2 separate regions of the Homo sapiens genome follow, and region 1 is linked to region 2. The links are contacts of gene promoters, found by promoter capture Hi-C in blood cells and fetal thymus (Javierre and others, 2016). All regions are on one chromosome and are shown on one strand. The core of a region is centred on a gene start or on the middle of the fragment in contact, and the rest is flanking DNA. Distances in the headings are between cores, read along the strand shown.

What was found. The method cuts DNA at HindIII sites, captures the fragments that hold promoters and counts their contacts. A CHiCAGO score of 5 or more calls a contact.
Region 1: a fragment that was not itself captured here is called in contact with the fragment with the promoter of TLR4 in region 2 in 2 of 17 cell types (M1 macrophages and M0 macrophages); the score reaches 7.4 in M1 macrophages.

What each region holds. Positions count from the first base shown.
Region 1 is chr9:119,293,024-119,298,142 of GRCh38, forward strand. The region is part of intron 2 of BRINP1 (BMP/retinoic acid inducible neural specific 1); the gene reads right to left. Among named protein-coding and RNA genes, the nearest start is that of BRINP1, 74 kb to the right of the region's middle. RefSeq lists an enhancer at 4,829-5,119. The HindIII fragment of the contact is 3,745 bases long and covers 799-4,543 here.
Region 2 is chr9:117,702,159-117,707,598 of GRCh38, forward strand. It overlaps TLR4 (toll like receptor 4), which reads left to right and starts at 2,245. Exons shown (of 3, transcript NM_138554.5): 1 at 2,245-2,407. The coding sequence starts at 2,315. RefSeq lists enhancers at 1,667-2,866, 1,814-2,314, 2,215-2,264, 2,275-2,344, 2,315-2,815 and 1 more. The HindIII fragment of the contact is 5,259 bases long and covers 1,386-5,440 here.

The DNA of each region.
Region 1 (5,119 bases), core at 1,421-3,920, 1.6 Mb after region 2:
TACATAACAGTGATCAAAATGAACAAAAATCCATGCCTCAATAGAATGTACATTCTGGACTGAAGTTTCCTAAAAGGTGATATGGCTTCTTATGAAAGCCCACATTGTGTGGTATAAATGATCAGTAAATTGAGAAAATAAATTCTTCCCAAGAATATGACATGTTATAAGAATTCTCGGCGGGAAAAGGTGCTAAAATATATGTACTAAGATTATGTTCTGCTCCAAGAATTAGTAAATGGAAAAATCTAGGTTTCTTTTTCCTTTTTTTTTTCTGCAAGCTAAATATTTCTCATTCTCTCTTCTTGTAAATGTCACCTCTAGAATCTTTATGTATGGATAAGGATTATCCTTACGCATGAATAAGGTGAGATATATTTGCATATTAGCAAGACTCTTCTCCATTCTCCTTTGAAAAGTGTTGCAAAAGCACCAGCGATGTACCTAAACTGAGAACCAGTGATAATAAGGGACCCATGAAACAGAAAGGTAGTTGTAGAAAGTTAAAATGAGTAATGAAAGTCACATCAGAAGACTTAGATAGATGCCAATGCTTCATCACTTACCAGGTATATCACACTGGATAAATAATTTATTCACTCAAAGCCTTTGCTACGTCATCTGTAAAATGAGATATTATTACTACCTCATATGAGACATTGTTTTGTGAATTTTAAAGCATTGCATATAGATAGTATATTTGAATAGGAGGTAGAAGAGTGAGAAGAGAAAAGAAAAAAAAGAAAACGAAGAAGATGGAAAAATAAGAGCTATGGAGTATTGTAAATGGAAACTAAAAGCTTTTCCTCTAAGATTCAGTACAAGGCTAGGATGCCCACTCACCACTTCTATTCAGCATAGTATTGGAAGTCTTAGCTGAGTAATTAGACAAGAAAAATTAAATACATAAAAGTAATAAAAGTAATTCAAATAAAAAAAGAAGTAAAATTATCTCTGTTTGCAGATGATATGATGATCATATAGAAAATCCTAAAGACTCAGTAACAACAAAAATGGTACAACTTATAAATAAATTTAATGAAGTTGAAGATACAAAATAAACATACAGAAATCTGTGAACTATCCAAAAATAATGCTAACAATGAAATATCTTAAAAATTATAAAAACAACCCCATTTACAATAGTAAGAAAAAGTATAAAACACTTAGGGATACAGTTAAGAAGTAAAAGACATATATTCTGAAAATTATAAAACGTTGATGAGGCTGGGCACGGTGGCTCATGCCTGTAATCCCAGCACTTTGGGAGGCCGAGGCGGATGAATCATCTGAGGTCAGGGGTTTGAGACCAGCCTGGCCAATATAGTGAAACCCTCTACTAAAGGTACAAAAACTAGCTGGGCGTGTTGGCATATGCCTATAATCCCAGCTACCCAGGAGGCTGAGGCAGGAGAATCGCTTGAAGCTGGAGTTGGGGGTTGCAGTGAGCCGAGATCATACCACTGCACTCCAGCCTTGGCAACAGAGATGAAACTTCATTTCCAAAACAACAACAACGACAAAACACATTGATGAAGGAAATTTAAAAAGACACAGAAAGGCTGGGTGCGGTGGCTTACACCTGTAATCCCAGCACTTTGGAAGGCTGAGATGGGCAGATCACCTGGGGTCAGGAGTTTGAGACTAGCCTGGCCAACATAGTAAAACCCCATCTCTACTAAAAATACAAAAATTAGCCAGATGTGTCTGTATTCTCAGCTACTTAGGAGTCTGAGGTAGGAGAATCACTTGAACCCAGGAGGTGGAGGTTGCAGTGAGCCGAGATCACACCACTGCACTCTAGCCTGAGCAACAGAGTGACACTACGTTAAAAAAAAAAAAAAAAAAGACACACATAAATGGAAAGGTAGCACGTGTTCATGAATTGGATTAATAATGTTAAAATGTCCATAATACCCAGCTGATCTACATATCCAATGCAATCTCTATCAAATTTTGCATTCTTTATAGAAATAGAAAAAAAAAACTTAAAATATGTGTGGAACTACAAAAGACCCCAAATAGCCAAAGAAATCTTATACAGGAACAAAGACGAATGCATCCCACTTCTCGATTTTAAAATATACTGGCATGTATCACTTAATGATAGGAATGCATTATTTTTTATTATTTTTAATTTTTTTTTAATTATTTATTTTTTGAGACTGGGTTATGAGACTGGCTAATTTTTGCATTTTTGGTAGAGGCGGGGTTTCATTTATGTTGCCTAGGCTGGTCTCAAACTGCTGGCCTCAAGCAATCCATCCACCTCAGACTCTGAAAGTGGACAGGAATACATTCTGAGAAATACATCAGTAGATGATTTTGTCATTGTACAAACATCACAGAGTATACTTGCACCAACCTAGATGATATATCCTACTACACACCTAGGCTCTATAGCATAGCCTATTGCTCTTAGGCTACAAATCTGTACAAGATGTTACTTTACTGACTACTGTAAGCAATTGTAATACAATGGTAAATATTCATGTATCAAATATATCTGAACATAGAAAAGGCACAGTAAAAATATGGTATTATAATCATATAGGAACACTGTCATATACACAGTGTGTTGTTGACTGAAACATCATCATGCAGTGTGTCACTGCATTACAAAGCTACAGTATTCAAAACAGTATGGTACTGGCATAAAAATGAACATACAGACAAAATTGAACAGAATAGAGAGACCAGAAATAAACCTGGGCATGTATTGTCAATTCGTCTTCAACAAGGGTTCCAACCACACACAATGAGGAAAAGGTTCTCTCTTCAATAAATGTTGTTAGAAAAACAAGACACCCACATGCAAAAGGAGGAAATTGCACCTTTATCTCAGACCATATACAATAATCAACTCAAAATGAATTAAGAACTTAAAGGTAAAACCAGGAACCATAAAAACACTAGAAGAAAACAGAGATAAACCTTCTTAACATTGGTCTGGGCAATGATTCCTTTGGATATGACCCTAAAAGCACAGGAAACCAAAGCAAAAATAGACAAGTGGGATTCCATCTAACTAAGCAGTATCTGTATATCAAAAGAAACAATCAACAGAGAGAAAAAGCAACCTATGGAATGGGAGAAAATATCTGCAAACCATATATCTAATGAGTGGTTAATTTTCAAAATATATAAAGCATTCAAATAAATGAACAGCAAAAGAAAGAAATAACTCGATGTAAAAATGGGCTAAGGACCTGAATAGGCATTTTTCTCAAGAAGACATACAAATGGCCAACAGGTACACAAAAACATACTCAATATCACTAATCATCAGGAAAATGTAAATCAAAACCACAATGAGCTATTACCTTGCACGTGTTAGAATAGGTATTATAAAATTTTGAAAAATAACGTGTTAGCAAGAATGTGGATGGGAATGCAAATTTATACAGCCATTTTGGAAAACAAACAGTATGGAAGTTCTTCAAAAAATTACAACTAGAACTAATATATGATCCAGCAATCCCACTTATAGGTATTTATCCAAAGGAAATGAGATTAGTATGTTGAAGAGCTATCTGCATTCTCATGTCCATTGCAGAGTTTCTCACAATAACCAAAATATGGAATCCACATAAATGTCCATCAACAGATGAATGGACACACACACTCACCCACACACAAAGTGAAACATTATTCAACCTTTAAAAAGAAAGAAATCCTGCCATTTGTAACATGTATGGGCCTGGAGGACATTATGCTAAATGAAATATGCCAGGCACAGAAAGACAAATACTGCATGATTTCACTTGTATGTGGAATCTAAAAGGATCAAACTTACAGAAGCAGAGAGTAGAATGATGGTTGCCAGAAATAGGGGGAAGGGAGAAATGGGGAGAGTTTGGTCAAAGGGTACGAACGAAGTTTCTGTTATGCCAAATAAGTAAGTTCTGGAGAGCTAATATACAGCATGGTGACTATAGTTAAAAATGCTATATTATATTCTTGAAATTTGCTAAGAGAATAATCTTAAGTGTTCTCATCACAAAAAAAGAGACGGAAAATAGTTACTGTGTGGGTGATGGACACCTTAATTAGCTTGATTGTGGGGGTAATTTCACAATGTATACATATGTCAAAACATCTAGTTGCATACCTTAAGTGTATACAATTCCTATTCATCAATTATACTTCAATAAAACTTAAAAAGAAAAGAAATGGATAGTATTTTAGCAATTATTTTGTCCAAAACATGAATATTATAGAGGGAATTGAGGCTCAGGGTTATAATATGCTCAGGTCACAAGGTGGATGATACAGTGTTGAGGACAGAGGAGGACACGGGCTCCTTGGTTCCCAAGGCTGCGCTCCCTTCACCTTCTCAGCGCCCTGTATAGCCAGTGGTAACGAGCACAGACTGTGGAACCAGATTGCCTGGGTTCAAATCAGAGTTGTGTGACTTCCCAGCTGTGTGACCCTGGCCATATTACTTTTCTGAGCCTCAATTTCCTCATCTGTAAAATGGGTTAAAGGCTACAGCTGTCACAAGGGTTGCACTCAAGTATAAATGACTTAATAGAGCTATATAAGCTTTAGCTAATAATACCATATTCTGTATCATATCACACAAGTTTATTCGTTCCATTCTTTTTGTTTTATTTTTCAACTTCCTTCTTGGTTCTGAAATGAACCCTAACAGGATTCTATTTTGGACTTTCTCCCATTATCCTGCTCATTTAGGTTCAACTGGCAGCATCAGGGCTGGGCTAATTATACGGTAAGACAATTCTGCCTCCTGAAACCCCTGGTCTTTAGTATTATTTTCCTTTCCCTTTCTAATAATTAATAATAATAATAAAATAATAACAAATGCAGGTTGAGCTGAAACAGAGAAAGAACTTTGTTCTGTCTGCAGGAACTGCAATGCAACCTCCATTTTTCTCTTGCTGACAAGCATCCGGGCCTGGGTGCCCCAGTGCCTTTTCGTAAATCAAAAGAATATTGAACTCATTATATTGAAGCACAAGTTATCCTTTCATCAGTCAATTTGTCTGGGTCAACTATTCTCGCACATTTATTCTGGACATCTAAAAGATAGGACATCTAACAGTCCGTCTCCAATATTACAACTGCTGCTCATTTTGTTATCCTAAAGTGATAGTCT
Region 2 (5,440 bases), core at 995-3,494:
TGACTATGTCAAAGTGAAACACCATTAACTTTCCAGGGAACTAAACTTTATTGAGCACCTACTCTGTGTCAGGCACTGCTCTAAAATCTTTACATGAATAATCTCAATACTCAGAGCAAAGCTTTGACATGGAGGTTGTTTTTATCTTAACTCTACTGGTGTGTTGATGGAGTCTACAAGAGTTTGTGCCCAGTCCACCACAAAATGGTCCCTCACAGCTTGGTTTTTGACACGTTGGATTGGAAGTGCTTGGAGGATATTACAGTAGAACTATCTAGGACTTAGCATGCATAATATTCCTGTTTTAAATCAGGTTCTTATTTAACAGAAACTTACATTGCACTTGCTACTTTCCAGACACTGTCCTAAAAGCTTTACAAATGCCAGTTCATTTAATCCCAATACAATACTTTGAGATACATATTATCATCTTCATTCTATCCACATTTTCAATCCTCATCATAGCTCTCATTTATGGAATGTAATGATGATGCTCTAGACTAGACGTTTTACGTAAGTTAGCTTAATTCAGTAATTCAAAACACATGCGATTATCTTCGTTTTAAAGACCAGAAAACTAAAGGTTGGTAGGTTTGTATAATTTGACTACCATTGCGTATCTTTATTTTAATACATTTTATAAATGCAAGCTTCTGCTATGATTAAAAGTGATTACCACATTTTACAGACCAGAAAGTAATAATAAGTGTTGGTGAAGATGTGAAAAAATGAGAACTCCTGTACACCATTTGTGGGAATGTAAAATGGTACAGATGCTGTGGAGAATCATATGGTGGGTGCTCAAAAAATTAAAAATAGATTTACCACATGATCCAGCAATCTCACTTCTGAGTACGTATCCAAAAGAATTGAAAACAGAGACTTTAAGAGATATTTGTACAACCATGTTTATGGCAGCATTATTCACAATAGCTAACGTGTGGCAACAATGCAAGTGTCCATGAACAGACAAATGGATAAGCAAAATGTGGTCTATACATACAATGGAATATTGTTCAGCTTTAAAAAGGAAGGAGGCTTTGATCTATACTACACAGAAAAGAACCTTGAGGACATTATGCAAAGTGAAATAAGCCAGTGACAAAAAGATACATACTGTATGATTCCACTTCTAAGAGCTGCCTAGAGTAGTCAAGATTATAGAGACAAAAGTAGTGCATAGATTCAAGGGCCTAGGGAAAGGGGAAATGGGGAGTTATTTATTAATGAATAGTGGTGATGATTGTACAAAAATATGAACATAATTAATGCCACTAAATTGTACACATACAAATGGTCAAGATAATAAATTTTATGTTATGTCATGTTATGTTATGTGATTTTACCATAATACAGAAAATGAAAAAAGAAAAGAAAGAAAGTAAAGCTTAGCGGTTTACATGACTTGACCAATGCCTCAAAGCCATGAGTCACCCAGCTGAGATCTGAACTTCAGTATATTCCATTCTGAAATCCCAGACTTTTCCCAATCTTCTTGTACTTTTCAAACTGTGTTTCAGTTGAGGTTTATTTTCAGTTTTGTATGTGAGTTTCTTCACAAGAAGGGGCGGGCCAAATTGTGTCCTGCAAAAACCTACATATCGAAGTCCTAACCCCTCTACCTCAGACTATGACTGTATATGGAGAGAGAGCCTTGAAAGAGGTATGTAAGGTAGAATGAGGTCATTATGGTGGGCCCTAATCCAACATAACTGGTGTCCTTATAAGAAGGGGAGATTAGAATTCAGACACACTTGCTGACACCTTGAGTTCAGACTGGAAGCCTCTAGAATTGTGAGAAAATGAATGTCTGTTGTTTAAGCCACCCAGTCTGTGGTATTTCCTTATGGCAGCCCCAGCAAACTAATACAAATAGTGTTTCCACAGCTGAAACAAAATTGGAAAATCACCGTCATCCTAGAGAGTTACAAGGGCTATTTTAATAGAACCTGATTGTTTTCCTAAATTCACCAAGCCCAGGCAGAGGTCAGATGACTAATTGGGATAAAAGCCAACTAGCTTCCTCTTGCTGTTTCTTTAGCCACTGGTCTGCAGGCGTTTTCTTCTTCTAACTTCCTCTCCTGTGACAAAAGAGATAACTATTAGAGAAACAAAAGTCCAGAATGCTAAGGTTGCCGCTTTCACTTCCTCTCACCCTTTAGCCCAGAACTGCTTTGAATACACCAATTGCTGTGGGGCGGCTCGAGGAAGAGAAGACACCAGTGCCTCAGAAACTGCTCGGTCAGACGGTGATAGCGAGCCACGCATTCACAGGGCCACTGCTGCTCACAGAAGCAGTGAGGATGATGCCAGGATGATGTCTGCCTCGCGCCTGGCTGGGACTCTGATCCCAGCCATGGCCTTCCTCTCCTGCGTGAGACCAGAAAGCTGGGAGCCCTGCGTGGAGGTATGTGGCTGGAGTCAGCTCCTCTGAACTTTCCCTCACTTCTGCCCAGAACTTCTCACTGTGTGCCCTGGTTTGTTTATTTTTGCAAAAAAAAAAAAGAGTTAAATTACCTTAAAGACTCAAGAAGCCACAGAGATCAAATAATTCATTGTTACAGGGCACTAGAGGCAGCCATTGGGGGTTTGTTCCATTTGGAAATTTTGAGTGCTAACAGGGGCATGAGATAACATAGATCTGCTTAAGGTCCCTGCTCTGCTACCTTGTGGCTCTGTGAAGAAATTATCAAACCTGTCTGAGACTAGTTTTCGCATCTGTAAGAGAATTATAATACCTTCTTCACTAGAGAGTAAGCAGACTGCTTCAGTGTCATTTCTTCCCACTGGTGGTCTTTACACTCAGCTTCAAGCAGTCACCCTGCTCCTTTCAATCTCAGGAAAAAGATGGCTTTTGTGTGTGTGTCTCTAGAGAAAGAACTTTCTAAGTGGGTGTCAGACTTCTGTATGCAGTAATATAGTTTAGTCCAGAGGATGAAAAAAATAAGAGAATGAAAAAGGAAAAGAGAGAGAGAGAGAAGAAAAAAGCAAGAGGGAAATATGTATAATGTCAGCTAATGCAACAGTTTCTTTCTTAGTGAAATACCAATCAGCTGGTTGGTAATCTTATTCATGATGGATCTCTTTTGTTTTTCCCCTGCGCAGACTTCACAGTTGCTTTAGAAACCCATAGTAGAGCCGAACAGCTAAGAAAATGATTTACAGTGAGGCAGGGTCAGAAACTCAAGAGAGAAAAAGCCAGCTGCAGTCCTGAAGTTGAGGATATAGGAGAAAATCAAGTAATATTTAGCAAAGACTAATTCATTATCTTGAAGCCATCCCTTCCCTCAATTCCCTGCCCATAGTCCTCCTCCTTGTCCTCTTCTCTGTATCCCTCTGCTGTTAGGTTAATGGAGATAGATTTTCTAATTAGGCTCACTGCGAGATAAAACCACAGCCAAACTTGACTTCTTTTCCCCATGTACCTTTTCCTGTCAGTCCCTGAAGCCTGTCCATCCCTGCCCATCCCCTTAGTTCCACTGTAAGGCAGGCCCTCATTTCCCCTGGCATTGACTCTTACACACTAACTGCTTTCCTGATTCCAGTCTTCTTCCTTTAATTCATTCTGCACGTTCTTGTTTGTTATGTACTTGCATTTGTTGTTATTATTTTTCCTTAGGCTTCAATCTAACAAATTACTCTCCTTAAAAACTTTTAATAACTCTCCATTGCCATTAGAACAGCTTTCTACCACAGGGCCTTTGCACTGGCTATTTCTTCTACCTAGAATGCTAGATCAGTGCTATCCATTGGCAATATTATGTGAGCCACATATGTACTTTTAAAGTTTTTAGTAGCCTCATTAAAAAAAGAAACAAGTGAATTTAATTTCGATAATAGTTTTATTTAACTTAGCGTATTTAAAATAATGTTTAAAATTTTAATATATATTTACCTATTATTGATATTTTTACATTCCTTGTTTGGTACTAAGTCTGGAATTTAGTATATGTTTTACATTTACCACACTTCTCAATTTACACTATTCACATTTCTTGTGTTTGATAACTGTGTATGGCTAGTGACTACCGTATTGGTCAGTGCAGCCCAAGTCCTTTTCATGCTTTAATCACTCCATTCAGATCTCTGATTAAATGTCCCCTCCTCAGGGCAGTCTTCCTTGATTGCCCCATGTAGAGCTCTCCAGCCTCACTTATTTGCCTCAAATCCCCTTATACTGCTTAATATTTTTTTTTCTAGAGCACAACATTTTATATTTTTGTTTGTTTATTTTCTCTCTCTCCCTTTGTAATGGAATCGGTAAGGAGGCAGGATCATTGCTGGTTTTATTTACCACTATATTTCCAGTGGCCAGCACACAGTAGCCGCTAGATGTGTAAGTGATAAATGATTGAAATAATTGCTGCAGGACAAAGTCTGAGGCCCTCCTGATCTGGCTTGCCCTCTTACTTAGATTTCACCACTCCCACCACTCACCAGCTAATCTGAGTTTGTTTTCCACTCTTTACGTGCTCACGTTGTCCTCTCCTTAGGACATGTTTTTCTTCCCCTTTCCACATATCTAAACCTTACTCATCTTCCAAGACCCACTTTAAAATCTTCCTTTTCTGGGAAGCCTTTCCTGAATCCAGACTTGATCTCTGCTTTCTCTGAACCACAGGGCATATTTTCTAAGCCTATTTTATGGCCCCTTGAGATAGTGTTAGCTTTGCTCCTATCTAAACTCTTACTCTAGACTGTGAGTCCATTGAAGTCTGGAGCTGCATCATATTTTTCTTTGTAATGCCCACAGCACTTGGCAGGAAATGCCTACAATTTGGACTTAAGTAAACCTTCATTTAATCAGTTATTCAATCAGTTAGTGATTCAGCAAATATTTATTGAGCACCAACCATTTGCCAGACACCATTCTGAGTGCTGGAGACAAAGCAGTGGGCAAACCCATCAAACTTGCAATGGAATACAGGAGATGAACAATACGATGAGAACAATCAGATAGACAACATAATGTTAGATGGTTGTGCTTCCCGTGAAAGGGAATAAAAGAGGGCAAAGAAAGAGTGCCTGGCACTGTTTCTATTAGACAATATTGTCTTTGAGGCTCCATGGCTTGCAACATTTAAGCAGACATACGAATGAAGATCTGCATGTTTGAACTCTGACTTTGCGCATATTACTTCATTTCTTTGAATTTCCATTTTCCTCATCTTTAAATGCTTATTTGAAGATTAAGTGAAAGTATATAACAAACAAGAACTATGCAGGCATATGGTAAGGGATTAATGATAGATGATAATAATTAATGTTGACATCTATTGATCACTTATACTGTAGCGGGCTTTTAAATAAACTCTTTAAACACCTTATCTCATTTAATCCTTCAAACATTCTATTGGTTTCAAACAACAGAAAACTACAATTAGCTGGCTTCTGCAAGGAATTTTGTTGGAGGAAATGAGAGCATTCAGAAATTAGATGG